Linked DNA regions of Homo sapiens: all the other regions are linked to region 1. The links are contacts of gene promoters, found by promoter capture Hi-C in human tissues and cell types (Jung and others, 2019). All regions are on one chromosome and are shown on one strand. The core of a region is centred on a gene start or on the middle of the fragment in contact, and the rest is flanking DNA. Distances in the headings are between cores, read along the strand shown. Region 1 holds the start of RNF112 (ring finger protein 112). Region 2 overlaps B9D1 (B9 domain containing 1). Region 3 overlaps LOC105371574 (a long non-coding RNA gene). Region 4 has its middle 34 kb from the start of TRW-CCA2-1.

What was found. The method cuts DNA at HindIII sites, captures the fragments that hold promoters and counts their contacts. A contact is called where the count stands out against the background at its distance.
Region 2: a fragment that was not itself captured here is called in contact with the fragment with the promoter of RNF112 in region 1 in 2 of the 25 tissues and cell types used here (neural progenitor cells and spleen).
Region 3: a fragment that was not itself captured here is called in contact with the fragment with the promoter of RNF112 in region 1 in 6 of the 25 tissues and cell types used here (liver, lymphoblastoid cells, mesenchymal stem cells and 3 more).
Region 4: a fragment that was not itself captured here is called in contact with the fragment with the promoter of RNF112 in region 1 in 1 of the 25 tissues and cell types used here (lymphoblastoid cells).

Annotation. Positions count from the first base shown.
Region 1 is chr17:19,409,615-19,414,031 of GRCh38, forward strand. It overlaps RNF112 (ring finger protein 112), which reads left to right and starts at 1,618. Exons shown (of 14, transcript NM_007148.5): 1 at 1,618-1,848; 2 at 2,016-2,056; 3 at 2,884-3,169; 4 at 3,324-3,530; 5 at 3,666-3,797; 6 at 3,963-4,067. The coding sequence starts at 1,795. The HindIII fragment of the contact is 25,812 bases long and covers 1-3,694 here.
Region 2 is chr17:19,356,057-19,360,861 of GRCh38, forward strand. B9D1 (B9 domain containing 1) reads right to left here. Exons shown (of 7, transcript NM_015681.6): 2 at 4,264-4,332; 3 at 1,784-1,895. Among named protein-coding and RNA genes, the nearest start is that of B9D1, 4.3 kb to the right of the region's middle. RefSeq lists an enhancer at 1,646-2,145. The HindIII fragment of the contact is 5,514 bases long and covers 1-4,805 here.
Region 3 is chr17:19,449,565-19,454,389 of GRCh38, forward strand. LOC105371574 (a long non-coding RNA gene) reads right to left here. Exons shown (of 3, transcript NR_188341.1): 2 at 4,021-4,096. Among named protein-coding and RNA genes, the nearest start is that of LINC02094, 34 kb to the left of the region's middle. RefSeq lists enhancers at 3,334-3,835, 3,836-4,335. The HindIII fragment of the contact is 5,812 bases long and covers 264-4,825 here.
Region 4 is chr17:19,472,008-19,476,622 of GRCh38, forward strand. No RefSeq gene overlaps it. Among named protein-coding and RNA genes, the nearest start is that of TRW-CCA2-1, 34 kb to the right of the region's middle. RefSeq lists an enhancer at 3,099-3,936. The HindIII fragment of the contact is 4,473 bases long and covers 1-3,743 here.

The DNA.
Region 1 (4,417 bases), core at 368-2,867:
CCTGGTGATGAGCAAATGGAAGCTCAGAGAGGGCAGTGACTCACCAGCATTTCATGCTGGGATGGAGGCAGGTTTAGAGCTTGAATCTGAGTCCAGCGCCCACGCTTTCTCTCCTGCAAGGATGAAAGGCTACAGGGGTTGAGAAAACCCTCCCTTCTGCCCTGAAGGCAGAGCTGTGGCACGGCTCAGGCTTGCTTCCTCATCCCCTGAGTGTGAGGCTTTGCTGCCAACACACAGGGGCTTGTCCCACCTGGGGCAGGAGGAGGCAGAGTCTATGGCACTGCTTCTCTGAATCTGATTGATTCAGCCCCACAATCTCAGGCCCTCCAGACACCAAAATGAACAAGATCCAGCCCCAGCTTCAGGGGTGTCTCCACCTGCTGAAGGTGGTCTCTGCTGAACTTTTCTAGGTTCTGAATCCCACCTCACCCCAACCCTTCTGCATCCTAGCTCATAGGATGTACGAATGACTCCCGTGCCTGGACTAGTGGCTTTACATAGGTAATGGTGGCTCCTCAGAGCACAGAGAGGTGCAGTGGAGTCCCAGAGCCCCTGAGCCGAGAATCAAGCCCAGATCTGCCTGGCTCTGAAGCCTGGGCTGCGCCAAGCCTATCACATATCCCAGCCCTCAACTGTCCAAGAACAAGACCGCACCCAGTTGGGAGGGGTGAGGAAAGGAGGCTCTAGGGAGGCCACAGCACCTGCACTGGGCCTAAGAGGGTGTCCCAGGAGGGATGAGAAGGAGCAGAGCAGCCAAGCCAGGGTGCAGAGGCAGGGAAGAGTGGGGCGAGAGAAGGGTGGAAGGAAGGTTCAGCCCAGTCCGCAGGCCGGAGAGTTTGGATTTTGATCTGATGGTAGTAGGGAGACACAAAAGGTGTTTGCGCAGTGTGAGGTCATCTGTGCTTGGGGAGCCTATGCTGGCTGTGCACTGGGGAGTGGAAGGGAGGCAAGGAGCCCAGTCAAGAGGCCATTAGAAGGTCCAGAGGTGGCTCATAGTTTTGATAGATTTCATCCTGCTCAAGTTTGAGGCAGAGTGAAAGCTATTGGGAGGGAAATACACCAGAGGACACGGAGGGCCCATGAGTGCTGAAGAAGGCTGCAGCTGGGTTGGGCGTCGATGACATAAACCTGAGAGAGAGCAGGAGGATGTGCAGGGCCATGTGAAGTAGGGTCTGCATTTGGGGGCTCTGTACATAGTAGGTACTCAGTAACTGTTCATTGGATGAATGGATGAATAACTCCTTGTCTCTGGGTCAGCTCTGGTCTTACCCTCTCCTGTTTCTCACACCTCTTCTCTTTGCCCACCCTGTCCTGTGGCCCTGGGGAGACCTCAGCTGGCCCAGTAGAGGCAGTGCTGGCCCATGGTTCTGCCGGAGGCGCCTCCATGTTTGCGGGTGCACCGCACGCCTTCTCCCTCTCTGTCCCCCTCCCCCTCCCTGTCCTTATCTTTCCCTTCTGTCTCCATGGCGACTCACCACCTCGGCTTGCCTGCATCCCAGCCTCTGCCAGGGATTCTGAGCCGGGCTCCATCCCTCCCTCCTCGGAGCCCTGCTACCCGCAGCCGTGTCTCCTCCCCCTGGGGTGAGTCCAGCAGCAGCCTCCTCTTTCCTGACTGTCACATTTCTTTTCCAGCTCTGACCGGGAGTCAGCTCCTCGGGGATACCATCCCCCGACCTCACCTTCTACCTACCGCAGCCTGCTAGCCTTTCCGGGAGAAAAGGCATCCTTACCTCTGGTTGAAGGTCTCGGGGCCTCCCCCTCTGCATCCGGACCCTCTCCCCATCCCAGCCTCCCATGCCAAGGCCCGCCTTGTCAGTCACTTCCTTTTGTCATCGGCTTGGCAAACGGGCAAGTCTTCAGTCCTAAGATCGGGAAGGAGAGTGGGGTGGGAAGGGCCCTCCTTGGGCTGGGGGATGGGCCGGGGGTGGGGAGGATGAGGGGTCCCTGGAAATCCAGGGTGAAGATAGAAGTCTGGATTATGTTCTAAATCTTTTTTTTTTTTTTTTTTCTCCAAGGAGAGAAAACAGAGCTTCATGGGAAACAGCGGCAACAGTTGGTAAGTAGCAGGGCCTTCCAGGCTGGGATGGGTGCAGTGAGGCCAGGCAGGTCAGTTGAAATGGCCGGTCCTGGAACACAGAGCCCGGCAGCCCAGCCGGGAGGGCTGTCCGCCTGAGGCTGGATCCGCCAGGCTGTGGAGGGAGGGACAGGAAGAAGCAGGTGGGTGCTGCAGGGAGGCAGATGCCAGCTCAGAGCAGAGAGCGGAAGGAATCTTCTAAGATCCAGAGCCATCTGCCCAACTGCAGCACAGGCTGATGGCTTCTCCTCACTGTCCCTGTAGCATGGGGTTGTGGAGGGTATCATCCCTGGGGGCCTGGCTGAAGTCAGCACCTCATGGAGGGAGCCCCGCTGTAGAACGCCGGGAGAGGCTCTTCCCAAGCATTTGCACCAGGCACTGTGCAGACAGCTGCACACGCCTCCTCTCGGATGGCCACCCCAACGGCCCCATGAGGGGTATTGCTATCCTCTCCATTGGGACAGTTAGGAAATTGAGGCCCAGAGAGGGGAAGGAACTTGCTTGCATTTGCATGGCTGGGATGTGGTGGAGTCCATTCCACTCAGATTTTCTCCCTCTCAGACTCTCTCACCATTGCTCTGCTGCCCCCACTCTGAGGCCCCCAGGTCCTAGGACACATGTCAGTGAGGAACGGGCAGAGCTTGGCCTCTCTGGGAGCAGCTCCGCCTGTCCATGGAGGCACTGATGGAAATTGGGTTGGCACAAAGGGACCTCCACTCCCAAGCCATCAGTCTTCCACCACAACCCTGGCCGGTACCCCCTGCCCCCAATAGACATCCTGCTTTTCAATGGCCTGTTTTGCCCCACAGGTCCCATACACCTTTCCCCAAGTTGGAGCTAGGCCTGGGGCCCCAGCCCATGGCGCCCCGGGAGCTCCCTACCTGCTCCATCTGCCTGGAGAGGTTGCGCGACCCCATCTCGCTGGACTGTGGCCACGACTTCTGCATACGGTGCTTCAGCACACACCGTCTCCCGGGCTGTGAGCCGCCCTGCTGTCCTGAGTGCCGGAAGATATGCAAGCAGAAGAGGGGCCTCCGGAGCCTGGGCGAGAAGATGAAGCTCCTGCCGCAGCGGCCGCTGCCCCCTGCACTGCAGGTCTGGGGACTGGGCCTAATCAGTCAGACCCAAGAGGAGGGGGTGGCTTTGGCCCTATTCTAGAACATCAGGACACAGAGCTCCAGGCTGAACACATTCCAGGGTCAGGAGCTGGTCCTGGATGCTCAGGGGCCCCTCTCTTCTCCTGGCCCAGGAGACGTGTCCTGTGAGGGCGGAGCCGCTGCTGCTGGTTCGCATCAATGCCTCTGGGGGCCTCATCCTTAGGATGGGGGCCATCAACCGCTGCCTGAAGCACCCTCTGGCCAGGGACACCCCAGTCTGCCTCCTCGCTGTCCTGGGGGAGCAGCACTCAGGGAAGTCCTTCCTCCTCAACCATTTGCTTCAGGGCTTGCCGGGCCTGGTGAGGGCGGGGCGGGGCAGGAGGGAGGCGGGGAGCAAGGATGGGGGTTCCTGCCTGGGGGAAGCTGGGTCTGGTATTCCGGTCTGTGGGGACAAGGAACCGACCAACTGATGCTCTCCCTTCTCTCCCCTGCAGGAGTCTGGTGAGGGCGGCCGGCCAAGAGGAGGAGAGGCATCCCTGCAGGGCTGCAGGTGGGGCGCCAATGGCCTCGCCAGGGGCATATGGATGTGGAGCCACCCCTTCTTGCTGGGGAAAGAAGGGAAGAAGGTGAGGGGGGAAGTGGCAGAAGGAGGTCAGGGATGGGAAGGGGAATCAAGAAGGGCGTCTCTGGGGTGAGGATAGAAGATGGGGATGGGACGGGGCAGGGTTGGGAAGAATGTGGGAGAACAAGGCAGGCCTGGCCCCTTGGGTCTTTCCCTACCCCCTGCATAGGTGGCGGTGTTCCTGGTGGACACAGGGGATGCCATGAGCCCTGAGCTGAGCAGGGAAACAAGGATCAAGCTCTGTGCTCTCACCACGATGCTGAGCTCCTACCAGGTGATGGGGGGCGCTGATGTTGGCATCCCCACCCCACACACCCTTCTCCAGCTCAGCTTCCTCAAGGCCAGAGCATCTCACAGGCTTTGGTGTCTGGGGTCCTGATAGGTTCTGGGGCTGCCTTAGAAGGGGGAAGGTGCTCCTAGTTGGTGAAGGTGGGAACGTGGGTTATTCCTAAAAGTGGGCTGATGGTCCCAGGGGCAGCTGAAGACCTGATGGATCACATTACCCTCCAGGCTTGTCTCCGGCCTTGAGGCCAGCCCAGCCCTGCAGCCTTCGAGGCCCCCATACTGGCCTCTCCCATACTCTGAGGCCCACAGGCTGCCTGCGAGCTCCCTACTCACCAGGGC
Region 2 (4,805 bases), core at 1,311-3,810, 53 kb before region 1:
TTTATGTCTATGAGATGTTATCTTTCTCCAAAGAGTTTTCTTTCTTTTTTTTTGAGACAGGGTCTCACTTTGTCACCCAGGCTGGAGTGCAGTGGCATAATCTCTGCTCACTGCAGCCTCGACCTCCTAGGCTCCAGCGATCCTTCTGCCTCAGCCCCCCAAGTAGCTAAGATTACAGGCGCCCACCCCCATGCCAAGCTAATTTTCGTATTTTTAGTAGAGAGAGATTTTTGCCATATTGCCCAGGCTGGTCTTAAACTCCTGAGCTCAGGCGATCTGCCTGCCTCAGCCTCCCAAAGTGCTGGAATTACAGGCATGAGCCACCATGCCCAGCCCAAAGAGGTTTCTAATTTGTTTTTGTCAGGTGCCTTGGTGTAACAATCTTGGAGCTGAATAGAAGAATCAGGAGGTTGAAATCATCAGGGGCTGAGCTGAAATCCCTGTGAGGCTGCTCTGCTTCCATCTCTCCCTTATTCCTAGGGCAGCTCTTTGAGGTCTTAACCCAGTTGGTGAGATTTACCTGAGGCCCTCCTCCCAACCCCTTGGAAGGCTCTGAACATCAGTTTTTTTGTGTCCTGGACCCAGAGAGGCTGTCAAAAGTCTTGATCAGTCTCTCAATCACCTCTATTGAAATCAGCAAACACTCCCAGAGGAGATGGGATTGGGGTAACCTCTCTGGATTTCTGTTCTCCTGGATCTTGCCTGGTAAATCTCTTCTACTTTGCTAGCTCTCTGATGCCTCTGAGGTAGTTGCTTTTTGTTTTTGCTTTTGTGTATTACATTTACCTCTCCTACCTGTCCTCGGCAGGAGGAGGTTCGTCCAGTACCTACAGTACCTATTGCACTGTTCCAGGAAGTCTATTGAAACTTCCTACTCATGGATGATGACAGCAGGATGGAATTCCCTGCTCAGGAGGACCACCAAGCATTTTCTGCTCCAGACCCTCCACACCGTGGTAAGCCTAGGCCCAGGCCACGTGCAGTAGAAAGGCCTAGATTGTGAAATCAGATGGGCCTGAATTAAAATCCACACTTGGTCACTAGATGTAAAGCAGAAGGCAAATGATGTCAATTTTGAGTGTCAGTTTCCTTATATGGGAAAAGAAATGGAGAGAAATCTCTCCAGCAGGTATGATTGGGAAGCTCGGATAAGTCCACACAGTGAAAGTATTCATAGTCCCCATGGAGACTAAGCCCAGGCTTTGTGCACAGTAGGCACTTATGAAGTGCAAGTGAACAATCAGAATGGTTAATAACCACCAGCCAAGGTAGAAAGTAAGCAATGCCAGCCAGGAAGCCCTTGGGAAAGAGGTTAGACATAGGACGTGGGAATGGTATCCAGACAGATGGATCGGCATGAATAAAGCTCAGATGAAGAAAGTTGAGGGACTAGCACAGGAGGAGAAAGTGCCAGGGTCTAGCCGGAACACAACACGCCATGGGAAGTCAGCAGGCACAGAGTCAGGCCTCCAGGCCAAACAGCCACAGTCCTGCATGCCAGGGTGGGGAGCCTGCCTTTTACAGGCGTGGCCACTAGCCCTGATGCACTCTGAACTTCCAGAAGGCCAGCTGCACAGCCTGTAGCAGATGAAGGGGGTGAGTGGGGATGAGGAAGAAGAGGAGGGAAAGGGACAGATGGCGAGAGAGAACGTTGAGGGCTGCTTCAAGAGCCCAGGTGACAATCTGAATGTGAACAGTCATGGGCTGGATGAGGCAGAGGCTGTCTTGGGGGTGCTGTGTGAAAGCTCTGCCACCCTACCCCACAGGGCCCCTGCAGACTCACAGCCGTAGGGGTTGGTGCTTTTAAAGGTGACATCAATGGGGAAGTTCCACACCAGTGCTTGCCGCACATCTTGGCTCTTGGATGTGATCTGTGAGATCCCCTCCTCCAGACCCTGTGAGGACAGTGACACAGACGGCTGGATTCAGAGCAGAGCCAAGCTGCTGCGGCTCCTCCCCTTACCTTCAGCAGGCAGTTGGGAGGGCTGTTTTCTCAGCTGTCTTCTCCCAAGACACGAACTTCCAAACAAAGGGGACTAAGAGATGATGGAGTACCTCTTTAAGTCTGGTACTTTAACGCCGTAGCTTGACAACCCTGGGAGGCCAGCCACTCTCCCGGGCACAAGGGCACTAGATCTGGTCCCAAGCTCTTGCCCCACTGAAGGAATGGTCCAGCATGCTTACACTCTCCTGCATCCCCACCCTCACCTGAGTATCCCCATCCTCACCTGAGTATCCCCATCGGTAAATACGTAAATGTGTTTTCTCCATCAAAAATAGTCCTCTTTCAACTCTGCGGCTTCTTCCACCCACCAACCCTTTCTCTGCTCCCTTTATAGCAAAACTGCCTCAAAGAGCTGCCACACTCACCGGCTCCAATTCCTCCCCTGCTATTCTTTTGTGACCCCACTCCAATGTGACTGCTGGCTCCAGCACTCTACCAAAGGGTTTTCTCCATTAATGCCCGTGACCAACATTGCTAGATCCAATGGTCATTTCTCTATCCTCGTGTTACTTGACCCATCAGCAGCACCTGATGCAGCTGCTTACTCCTTGATACACTGTCTTCCCTTGGCTTCTGGGTCTCTCCACTGCACAGGGTGGCCCCTGCTCAGTGGCTCTTGCTGGTTCCTTCTCAGTGTTGCCGTCCTAAGGCTGCATCTTTGGCCAGCTCCTCTACCTGTACTTGGTGATCTCATCCATCTCATGGCTTTCAATGTGCTCTAGATGTCGATGATTCCCAAATTTATGTCTCCAGCCTGGTCCTTGCCTCTGCACTCTGGATCAGCACCTCCTCTTGGATATCCAGTGGGTGCCTCAACCTTAACCCACACCAGGCTGAGCTCCAGGTAGCTCTCCCCAATCTGTTCTTCTCACTGAAAGGCAGCTGCCTACTTCTAAGTGCTCAGGCTAAAAGCCCTGCTGTGAATCCTAACTCCTCCTTCTCTCAGACCTCACATCCATCAAAAGAACCCAGCGGCTCTATCTTCAGAATATACTTGCAGTCCAGCCCCTCCCACCACCCCACTGCCACTGCCCTCCTCTCCCATCTCCACTGCTGTCAGAGCCAACTGGGCTGCCTGCTCTTGCCCTTTCCCCCCGAGTCTATCCTTGTCGTAGAAGCCAGGGAATCTTCTAAAAACATAAGTCAGATCACTTTCTCTGCTGAAAGTTCTCCAGTGGGATCCCATCTCCCTTTGAGTAAAGGTCACAGTCCTTACTCTGACAAGACCTGCCCAGGTGCCTCTCTGCTCCAGCCACTCTCCTGCTGGCTCGCTCTCCAGTGGCCACACAGCCTCCTTGCTGGTCCTCAAACATGCCAGGCAAGCTCCTGCTCCAGGGCCTTTGCACTCTCTGCTGTTTCTGCCTGGACAGTTCTCACGGGTTTCCACATGGCTTGTTCCCTCACTTCCTTCAGGTCTTTCCTCAAAAGTTACTTTCTCGGCAAGGCCCTCCCTGGCAGCCTTAGCGAGATCGCAGCCTCCTTCTCATCACTCATCCCTGTCACTTCCTGGCTTGGTCTCCCCTCACACTTCTGGCTTACTAACATCCTAGAATATGCACTCCTTATTATCTGACCCCCCAGCAAGAACGTGCGCTCCGGGAAGGCAGGGTCTTCTGGTTTGGCTTTGCTCACCCCTGCATCCCCAGCACCCAGAAGACAATCAATAAAGGGAAAAGAAGGATTATCATCTCAGTTGTACAAATGAGGAAACTGAGGCTCAGAGAGCTTAAATAAGTTCAGTCTCCTTTTCTTAAACTGCTATGAAGATGAAACAAGTGCTTTGCAAACAGCAGAGCACAGAGCGGGCTGAAGTTGTCACCACAGTCCCTCACCTGGTGGAGGCAAGCTACCCCTTGGGAAGTCCTGGAAGGAGAGCTCCTACTCTGTCTTTTTACTCCAGGTCCTCCCCACTGGCTGAGGAGAGGCCAAATGGTGAGCGGACTGGCCAGAGTGTCCACAGCTCAGCCACGTCCAGGCTGGCTCACTGGGGCCTGCCTCCTACTGCAGGTGTTGCTCTTTGCTGCCCCGGGGAAGCTCACAGGGTAGGGCTTCTGAGTGCAGTCTTGGTGGATGGATCAGGGAGTCCAACCATGGCTGTGTCCTCTGCTCCCGCTTTACCAGGAACACTCATGTTTGGGTTCCCCTGAACTCAGTCTCTACCTCTTAACTTGTTCTGAATGGGGAGGGGAAGGATATGACACCTTCAGAAACCCCAAAAGTCATGAAGGCGGTAAGGGAGGCCCAAGAGTCCAGCTTACCGCTGTGGGGGCCCAGTCCTGGCCGTACACAAAGCAGTACTTGCAGTAGAGGTCATCATACTCTGGAAACTGAAAAAAGCACAGACAGATTCTGTCGACTGGTATTCATGCTGAGGCCAATGCATTTGCTAGGCAGGTGCAGCCAAGGGGAATTCTGAACGTGAGACACCTGGGAGTGGGTCTAAGAGACGGCTGGAGATGTGTTCAGAGGAGAGGCTGAGGACCAAGAAGCGGGAGTCCACGGGAGACTCCCAGGTGCCACGGCCCCTGGCTTTTGCTCAGGCTCTGCCTTGTCTGATTTGTCCTTCCTACTTCATCCGGAAAACTCCTGCTCACCCTTCAAAACTTACCCTTCAGGGAGCCTGCTCTAACTCTCAAGCTGGTTTAAGGTCTCCTCTTGGCTCCCTTAGCCCCGTGCTTCCCTCCATAAAAGCAATGATTGCCTGTGTCTAAGTCTGTCAGTTCCTCTAGACCATGAGTAGAGAAGAGATTTAATGCCTTTCTGTGTCCCCACTGCCTGGCACAGGGCTGGGCACAGATAA
Region 3 (4,825 bases), core at 1,920-4,419, 42 kb after region 1:
TGAAAGAAAGGAGAAGGAGATTTGAGACGAGACACAGAGGGAGATGCCTTGTGAAGATGGAGGCAGAGATTGGAGAGATGTGTCTGCATGACAAGGAACGCCAAATATTGCTGGCACCCACCAGAAACTAGGAGAGAGGCACAGAACAGACCCTCCCTCACAGCCTCTAGAAAAAATACCCCCACCGACACCTTGATCTTGGACTGCAGGCCTCCAGAATTGTGAGAGAATAAGCTTCTGTTTGTTTGAAGCCACACAGTTTGTGGGATTTTGTTACAGCAGCCTTAGGAAGCTTCTGTTGGGTTTAAATTTCAGAGCCATAACTTCTATTCCCAGTGACACCACAGGCCTTGAGAAGGGGATGGAGTCTCAGGCACTCTCACACCATGCTGACTGGACAGCAAATCTGTAAAGTCATTCTGTAGGGCAATCTGACTATATACATCAAATGTACGTTTTATTTTATCAGTAGCAACAATCGTAGGAGCCTCACTCAGATGCAACAGTAAAGGACCAAGGTCTGCAGGAATATTTAAGACACCATATTCTGAACCTAAGACCACTGCCCAGCCTTAGTGGACTTGTGATTTCTCTTCCCCCTAGTTTTACATTTGGGGGGCCTGCTCTGCAACGTGGTCATTCTGAAATCGAGACCAAATCTTGTTCAGATGCGAGAGAAACAAAACAAAACTAGGTTCCACCCTTGGCTAACACTCACCCCACTCACCACAAAGGATGGTAGTGAAACTACAGAAGAAAACAGAGGCCAGGCACGGTGGCTCACGCCTGTAACCCCAGCACTTTGGGGGGCCGAAGTGGGCAGATCACAAGGACAGAGGTTCGAGATTAGTCTGGCCAATATAGTGAAACCCCGTCTCTACTAAAAATACAAAAATTAGCCGGGCATGGTGGCAGGCGTGGGAGGCTGAGGCAGGAGAATCGCTTGAACCTGGGAGGCAGAGGTTGCAGTGAGCCGAGATTGCGCCACTGCACGCGCCACTGCACTCCAGCCTGGGCGACAGAGTGAGACCCCATCTCCAAAAAAAAAAGAAAAAAGAAAAAGAAAACAGATTTGGCTGGGTGAGGTGGCTCACACCTGTAATCCCAGCACTTTGGGAGGCCAAAGCGGGCGGATCACCTAAGGTCAGGAGTTTGAGACCAGCCTGGCCAACATGGTGAAACCCTGTCTCTACTAATAATACAAAAATTAGTCGGGTTTTGTTGGTGCATGCCTGTAATCCCAGCTACTCAGGAGGCTGAGGCAGGAGGATTGCTGGAACCCGGGAGGTAGAGGTTGCAGTGAGCCAAGATCACACCATTGCACTCTAGCCTGGGTGACAGAGCAAAACTCCGTCTCCAAAAAAAAAAAAAAAAGAAAAAAAGAAAACAGATCCAACTGAGAGGGGAATAACAGGCAAATTGGCATCAGAAAAATCAATCCCGTGCTTGTGTGCGGTTATAAATACCTCTGAAAATTGAGGACTTGCCCGTTGTTAGTGGATTGTTTCATCACTGTATTAAACGTAAAGGGGACAAGATAGAAGATGTGGTCTTCTAGGCACTGGCTCCATGGAACACTATCTGGGGGAACTTTCTTTAACACAGATAATGCAAATGCCTATTTTTCTAATAACAATTAATTTAAAAAATTTCTATCTTCAATAGTGAGAAAAACAAACAAATAAAAACAGAACAATAACAACAACAACAAAACAATGAATGAACAGACCGGGTGCAGTAGCTCATGCCTGTAATCCCAGCACTTTGGGAGGCTGAGATGGAAGGATTGCTTGAGCTCAGGAGTATCACGCCCAGCCTGGGCAAGATAATGAGACCCTGTTTCTACTACTACTACTACTACTACTAATAATAATAATAATAAATAGCCAGGAATGGTGATGTACACCTATAGTTCCAGCTACTCAGGAGGCTGAGGCAGGAGGATCACTTATGCCCTGGAGACCAAGGCTGCCATGAGCCATTAACACACCACTGCACTCTAGCCTGGGTGACAGAGAATCTGTCTCAAAAAAATAAGTAAACAAACAATTAATGGACAGATGTTTGGAAGACAAAGTTTACCTCCCAGAATTCTATAGACCTTTCCAGAGATGTGGAATGTTAGCATTTTTATTTATTTTTTATATTTATTTATTTATTTATTTATTTATTTATTTATTTATTTAGAGACGGAGTCTTGCTCTGTCATCCAGGCTGGAGTGCAATGGCACGATCTCTGCTCACTGCAAGCTCCGCCTCCTGGGTTCATGCCATTCTCCTGCCTCAGCCTCCCGAGTAGCTGGGACTACAGGCGCCCACCAACATGCCCGGCTAATTTTTCTGTATTTTTAGTAGAGACGGGGTTTCACCGTGTCAGCCGGGACTGTCTCGATCTCCTGACATTGTGATCCGCCCGCCTCGCCCTCCCAAAGTGCTGGGATTACAGGCGAGTCACCGCGCCTGGCGCAATTTTGTTTATATGATTCTGATATCGTCCCATTTAACACATCAAAAAATGCACAAATACATACTTTAAAAACATTCTACAGTTCTTTGACTTTTAAAAAATATCTTTCAAAAATCTTTTTAAGAATGCTTGACATTGTATCTACCCTCTTAACATGCAGACATGCACACGCAGGGTCATGCACACACACACTGGCTGGGACTGGCAGAAGGGGCCACTGTGGTGTGCCTGCAAGCCTAGGGGTGGGCCCAGGTGGCACCATGGCAGGGGCAGATCTTGGTGGTAGTAGTAAATATTCAAATGAGCGTTTTGAAGGCCAAAGTGGAGAAGGATTCCATGTGAAAAGCAGTTGAACATGGGTCAGTCGGTCCTGAGACAGGCGAGCATCATCCCAAAGGAGTAGGCATTGGCCTCAATCGCTGTCAGTGATAGAAAGGGAGTTGGGTTTGGATTCCCAAATCCAGAGTGGCGGAGATAGGAAACACCAAGTTGCCTTCTCCAGTGCTGTATCCTGGAGGAGCCGGCAGGAGCCCAGGGAGAGATCTCTTTTTCTTGTGAAGTGCAGGGCGTGCTAGAATAAATTCACAGTTCTGGAGACTTCTAGTGGCACTTGAGAATCCGGGGAAGGGGGTGCAAATCTCCGTGGCCCATATACCAGCAGGTCTCCCAGGTGAACAGCCTCTGGACAAAGTAGGTAAGGGAAGTCATCCAGCCAATCACTTACTTGGGAATAAAAATGGGCTCTAAGGGCTCGTCAGGTACTCTTGACTGGTGAATATGGTTTGGATGTCTGTCCCCTCCAAATCACGTGTTGCAGTGTGATCTCCAGTGCTTAAGGTAGGATCTGGTGGGAGGTTTTTGCGTCATGGGGGTAGATCTCTCATGAGTGGCTTGGTGCCCTTCCTGAACTGATGAGTGAGTTCTCACTCTATTAGTTCACATGAGAGCTGGTGGTTTAAGACAGCCTGTCATCTCTTGCTCTCTCTCTCACATGTGACACAGTGGCTCCCCTTTGCCTTTGGCCATGATTGGAAGCTCCCTGAGGCCTCACCAGAAGCAGGTGCTAGTGCCATGCTTCTTGTACATCCTGCAGAACTGTGAGCCAAATAACCCTCTTCTATATAAATTCCCCCAGCCTCAGGTATTTCTTTATAGTGAAGCAATATGGACTAACACACTAGATAAGGTGATTAACTTTCCCATCCTCACCCAGGATCCCCTGGACCTTAGATATCTCCAGCCTCCTGCCCCCAAGGAAGGGTGGATGTAGGGCCCTAGTGGGAGAAAGGGTCCTGCAGTGTCATGGGGTCGCTGGGTTCAGGGACTGTGGCTGTGGACAGGAGCTGGGCCTTTCCCATGGATAGCCCCAGCTGCTGTGGGCCTCGTGGCTGCCCAGGGAGCCCCAGTCTCCAGCAAAACCTCAGCCAAGGGAATGTGCTTGGAAGGATCTTGGGGAAAGACCCCAGAGACTGAGCGTGGTCTGGCCTGGTGAGGAGACAGAGGAGTCTGCTACTCCTGTGGTTTTCTCCAATGACCAGCAAGAGCATCCTGACCTCCAGGAATTTTCACCACCAGCTCTGGGGAGGTCCACTGGTGTCCCAAAGCAGGCCAGGGTTGACAGAACTTCCCCTGGAACAAAAGGGGGAAAGTGCACTTGATTTTCACTTTCAGGATGAACGGGAATGCAGGGCCTCTCCATCCTTCTAACTACGGGGATTTTACTCAGGTGACGTCAGACAAGTCATACAGGGATCCAGGTGAAGTGCACATCCCCATTTAATGCAGAAATACACAAATTGAGTTCCGATCTCCTGCCTGTCAGCACGGCCCCTACTAACCCTGAGACAGCATCCTCAGATTTTCAAAATGAAGGGAACTTCGCTGTCAGCAAACAGCTGTGGTACCCAGGTGCTCTGCCAAAGAAGCAACCAGGAACTTTAGAACTGTGCTCTTCAAATGCCTGGCAACCCCTGCACTTTTCTCCGTGAGAGGTGATCAGCCAGGGTCAGAGTGGAAACGCTAAAGAAGAGCTCCCTGGGAGTGTGGGCACCACGATAAGTCTCATCCCCAGACACCTCTCCACAGCCACTTTGCCTGAATTGCCAAGTGAATGGCGGTGCTGCAAACACTTTTGCTTTTAGTAGGTCTTTATGCAAGGAAATAAAAAATCTCAGGACCACTCAACTCCTTCTGCCAAAGGGAAAGTTAAGCCTGGAGGCTGAGTCACTGGCAACACCCTCTTCCAAATGAATTGCTGTTACTTCACAACCTTGTGTCAAAGCATTAGGCATTAGCTAGACCCCCATGGAAGGGCCTCAGGCATCTCCAGATGACAACCCCCACAAAGCACTCATAAGT
Region 4 (4,615 bases), core at 257-2,756, 62 kb after region 1:
ACAAGGCGGGTGGATCACCCGAGTTCAGGAGTTCGAGACCAGCCTGGCCAACATGGCGAAACCCCATCTCTACTAAAAATACAAAAATTAGCTGGGGGTGATGGTGGGTGCCTATAATCCCAGCTACTCGGGAGGCTGAGGCAGGAGAATCACTTGAACCCGAGGGGCGGAGGTTGCAGTGGGCTGAGATTGCACCATTGCACCCCAGCCTGGGCGAAAGAATGAAACTCCGTCACACACACACACACACACACACACACACACCCATAAATGGAGTGTACACATGGTCCTCTGTGACTGCCTTCTTTCCTTTGCATGTGCTTCCAAAGTTCATCCATGTTGGAGCATGGATCGGTATCTCATTCCTTTTCATGGCTGGAGAATATTCCAGTGTAGGATACACCACATTTGGTAATCAGCTGATGGACATTTGGGTTGTTTCCATCTTTGGCTACCGTGAACATACCATGAATGTTTAGGTAAGAGTTTTTGTGTGCATATATATTTTCATTTTTTTTGATATAATCTAAGTGGATTTGCTGGGTCAAATGGTGACACTGTTTAGTTTGGGAACTGCCAGTCTATCTCCCAAAGGGGCTTCAACACTTTACATTCCCACCAATAGCATTTAAGGGTTTCATTTGTCAACACTTCTCCAACTTCTTGCCAACACTTGTTATGACTTGTCTTTTTTTACTATACCCATCCTAGTGGGTGTCAAGTGGCATCTCAATGTGGTTTGGATTTAGACTTCCATGATGACAATTGATACTGAGCATCTTTCCATGGGCGTTGGGCAGTTTGTTTGTGTGTGTGTATATGTGTGTATATATATATATATATATATACATTTTTTTTTTGAGACAGCGTTTTGCTCATGTTGCCCAGGCTGGAGAGCAGTGGTGCAATCTCTGCTCACTGCAACCTCTGCCTCCTGGGTTCAACCAATTCCCCTCCCTCAGCCTCCCGAGCCTCCTGAGTAGCTGGGATTACAGGCATCTACCACCAGGCCCGGCTAATATTTTGTATTTTAGTAGAGACAGGGTTTCACCACTTTGGCCAGGCTGGTCTCGAACTCCTGACCTTAGGTGATCCACCCACCTCAGCCTCCCAAAGTGCTGGGATTACAGGCGTGAGCCACCGCGCCCGGCCAGTTTGTATATCTTCTTTGGGGAAATTTCAGATCTTTTGTCTATTTTAAAAATCCAGTTATTTGTCTTTTTATTATTGCATTGTAAGAGTTCTTTATATATTTGATATGTTTGGGTCACAGGGGCAGATCCCTCATGAATGGCTCAGTGCCCTCCCCATGGTAATAAGTGAGTTCTCACTCTGTTAGTTCACTAGAGAACTGGTTGTTAAAAGGAGCCTGGCACCTCCTCGCCTCTCTCCCACTCTCCCACTTGCCATGTGATGTGCCTATTCCCTCTTTGCCTTCTGCCATGATCGTAAGCTTCCTGAGGCCTCCTCAGAAGCTGAGCAGATGCGGCTGCCTGCTTGTACAGCCTGCAGAACTGTGAACCAAATAGATGTCTTTGTAAATTACCCAGTCTCAGGTATTTATTTATAGCAGTGCAAAAAGGACTAACACAATATTCTAGATATGAATTCCTTGTCAGGTATATGATTTGCAAATATTTTCTCCCATTTTGTGGGCTGTCTTTTCATTTTATTGGTAGTGTCCTTTGAAACACAGAAGTTTTTAATTTTCATGAAGCCGAATGTATCTATTTTTTATTATGTCGTTTATGCTTTTGGCATCATATCTAAGAATCCAAGCTCACAAAATCTTAGCCCTATGTTTTCTTCTAAAAGAGTTACAGTTCGGGCTCTTACATTTTGGTCTTTGGTCTATTTTGACTTAATTTTGTACATGACATGAAGTGGGCATACAACTTCATTCTTTTGCATGTGGATATCCAGTTATCCCAGAACCATTTGTTGAAAAGACTATTATTTTTCCACTGAATGGTCTTTGCAGCCCTGTTGAAAATCAGTTGACCATAGATACATGAATTTATTTCTGGACTCTCAATTTTATTCCATTGATCTATATGTCTATCCTCATGCCAGTACCACCGTCTCTTAGTTACTGTTGCTTTATAGTAAATTTTGAAATCCAGAAGTATGAGTCCTCCAACTTTGTTCTGTTTTCAAGATTGTTTTGGCTACGCTGCTGCATTGAGTACCCACACAGATTTTAGAACCAGCTTGTCAGTTTCCTCAAAGGATCCAGTCATTATTTTGATAGGATTGCATTGATTCTCTAGATCAATTTCAGAAGTACCAACATCTTAACAATATTCCCACCCATGAACGTGGAAAGTTTTATTTAGGTCTTTCTAAATTTCTTTCAATGAAATTTTGTAGTTTTTAGAGTATAAATTTTATACCTCTCTTATTAAATTTATTCCTATGTACTTTACTATTTTGAGGATATTTAAAATGTAATTATTTTCTTAATTTTATTTTTGAATTATTCATTGCTAGTATATATTTTTTTATTTTTAATTTCTTTTTTTTAACATTTTTTTAAGAGATGGGATCTTGCTATGTTGCCCAGGCTGGTCGTGAACTGCTGAGTTCAAGCACTCCTCCTTGGCCTCCCAAAGTGCTGGGATTATAGGTGTGAGCCACCACACCCAGCCCATTGCTAGTATGTAGAAATACAATGGATTTGGCTGGGCGCAGCAGCTGATGCCTGTAATCCCAGCACTTTGGGAGGCAGAGGTGGGCGGATCATGAGGTCAAGAGATCAAGACCATTCTGGCCAACATGGTGAAACCCCATCTCTACTAAAAGTACAAAGATTAGCTGGGCGTGGTGGCGCTCGCCTGTAGTCCCAGCTACTCGGGAGGCTGAGGCAGGAGAATTGCTTGAACCTGGGAGGCGGAGGTTGCAGTGAGCTGAGATCACGCCACTGCACTCCAGCCTGGCGACAGAGTGAGAATCTGTCTGAAAAAAAAAAAAAAAAAAAAAAAAAAAAAGCAATGGATTTTTGCATAGCAATCTTTTATCCTGCAAACTTGTGGAATTAAAACGTTTTAGTGGATTCCTTAGGATTTTCTGCATATCCTGTGGATTCATCTGGAATAGGGATAGTTTTACTTCTTCCTTTCCAATCTAGATGACTTTTATTTCTTGTTTTTGTTTAAAATCTCTACTACAAGGTTTAAAAGAAGTGATGGTCTTCTAAGTTCTTGATCTTAGGACTGGGGTAAAACATCTGTCTTTCACTATTAAGTGCAATGTTAGCTGTAGGCTTTTCTTAAGGTGCCCTTTAGAAAAATCCCACGCTCCCTCTCCCTCCCCCTCCCCCCTCCCTCTCCCTCTCCCCACGGTCTCCCTCTCCCCACGGTGTCCCTCTCCCTCTCTTTCCACGGTCTCCCTCTGATGCCGAGCCGAAGCTGGACTGTGCTGCTGCCATCTCGGCTCACTGCAAACCTCCCTGCCTGATTCTCCTTCCTCAGCCTGCCTAGTGCCTGCGATTGCAGGCGCGCGCCGCCACGCCTGACTGGTTTTCGTATTTTTTTGGTGGAGACGGGGTTTCGCTGTGTTGGCCGGGCTGGTCTCCAGCTCCTAACCGCGAGTGATCCGCCAGCCTCGGCCTCCCGAGGTGCCGGGATTGCAGACGGAGTCTCGTTAACTCAGTGCTCAATGTTGCCCAGGCTGGAGTGCAGTGGCGTGATCTCGGCTCCCTACAACCTCCACCTCCCAGCCGCCTGCCTTGGCCCCCCAAAGTGCCGAGATTGCAGCCTCTGCCCAGCCGCCACCCCGTCTGGGAAGTGAGGAGCGTCTCTGCCCAGCCGCCCATCATCTGGGATGTGAGGAGCACCTCTGCCTGGCTGCCCAGTCTGGAAAGTGAGGAGCGTCTCTTCCCGGCCGCCATCCCATCTAGGAAGTGAGGAGCGTCTCTGCCCGGCCACCCATCGTCTGAGATGTGGGGAGCGCCTCTGCCCCGCCGCCCCGTCTGGGATGTGAGGAGCGTCTCCGCCCGGCAGCCACCCCGTCCGGGAGGGAGGTGGGGGTCAGCCCCCCGCCCGGCCAGCTGCCCCGTCCGGGAGGGAGGTGGGGGGGTCAGCCCCCGGCCCGGCCAGCCGCCCCGTCCGGGAGGTGAGGGGCGCCTCTGCCCGGCCGCCCCTACTGGGAAGTGAGGAGCCCCTCTGCCCGGCCACCACCCCGTCTGGGAGGTGTACCCAACAGCTCATTGAGAACGGGCCATGATGACAATGGCGGTTTGGTGGAATAGAAAGGGGGGAAAGGCGGGGAAAAGATTGAGAAATCGGATGGTTGCTGTGTCTGTGTAGAAAGTAGAAGACATGGGAGACTTTTTTTTTGTTCTGTACTAAGAAAAATTCTTCTGCCTTGGGATCCTGTTGATCTATGACCTTACCCCCAACCCTGTGCTCTCTGAAACATGTGCTGTGTCCACTCAGGGTTAAATGGATTAAGGGTGGTGCAAGATGTGCTTTGTTAAACAGATGCTTGAAGGCAGCATGCTCGTTAAGAGTCATCACCATTCCCTAATCTCAAGTACCCAGGGACACAAACACTGCGGAAGGCCGCAGGGTCCTCTGCCTAGGAAAACCAGAGACCTTTGTTCACTTGTTTATCT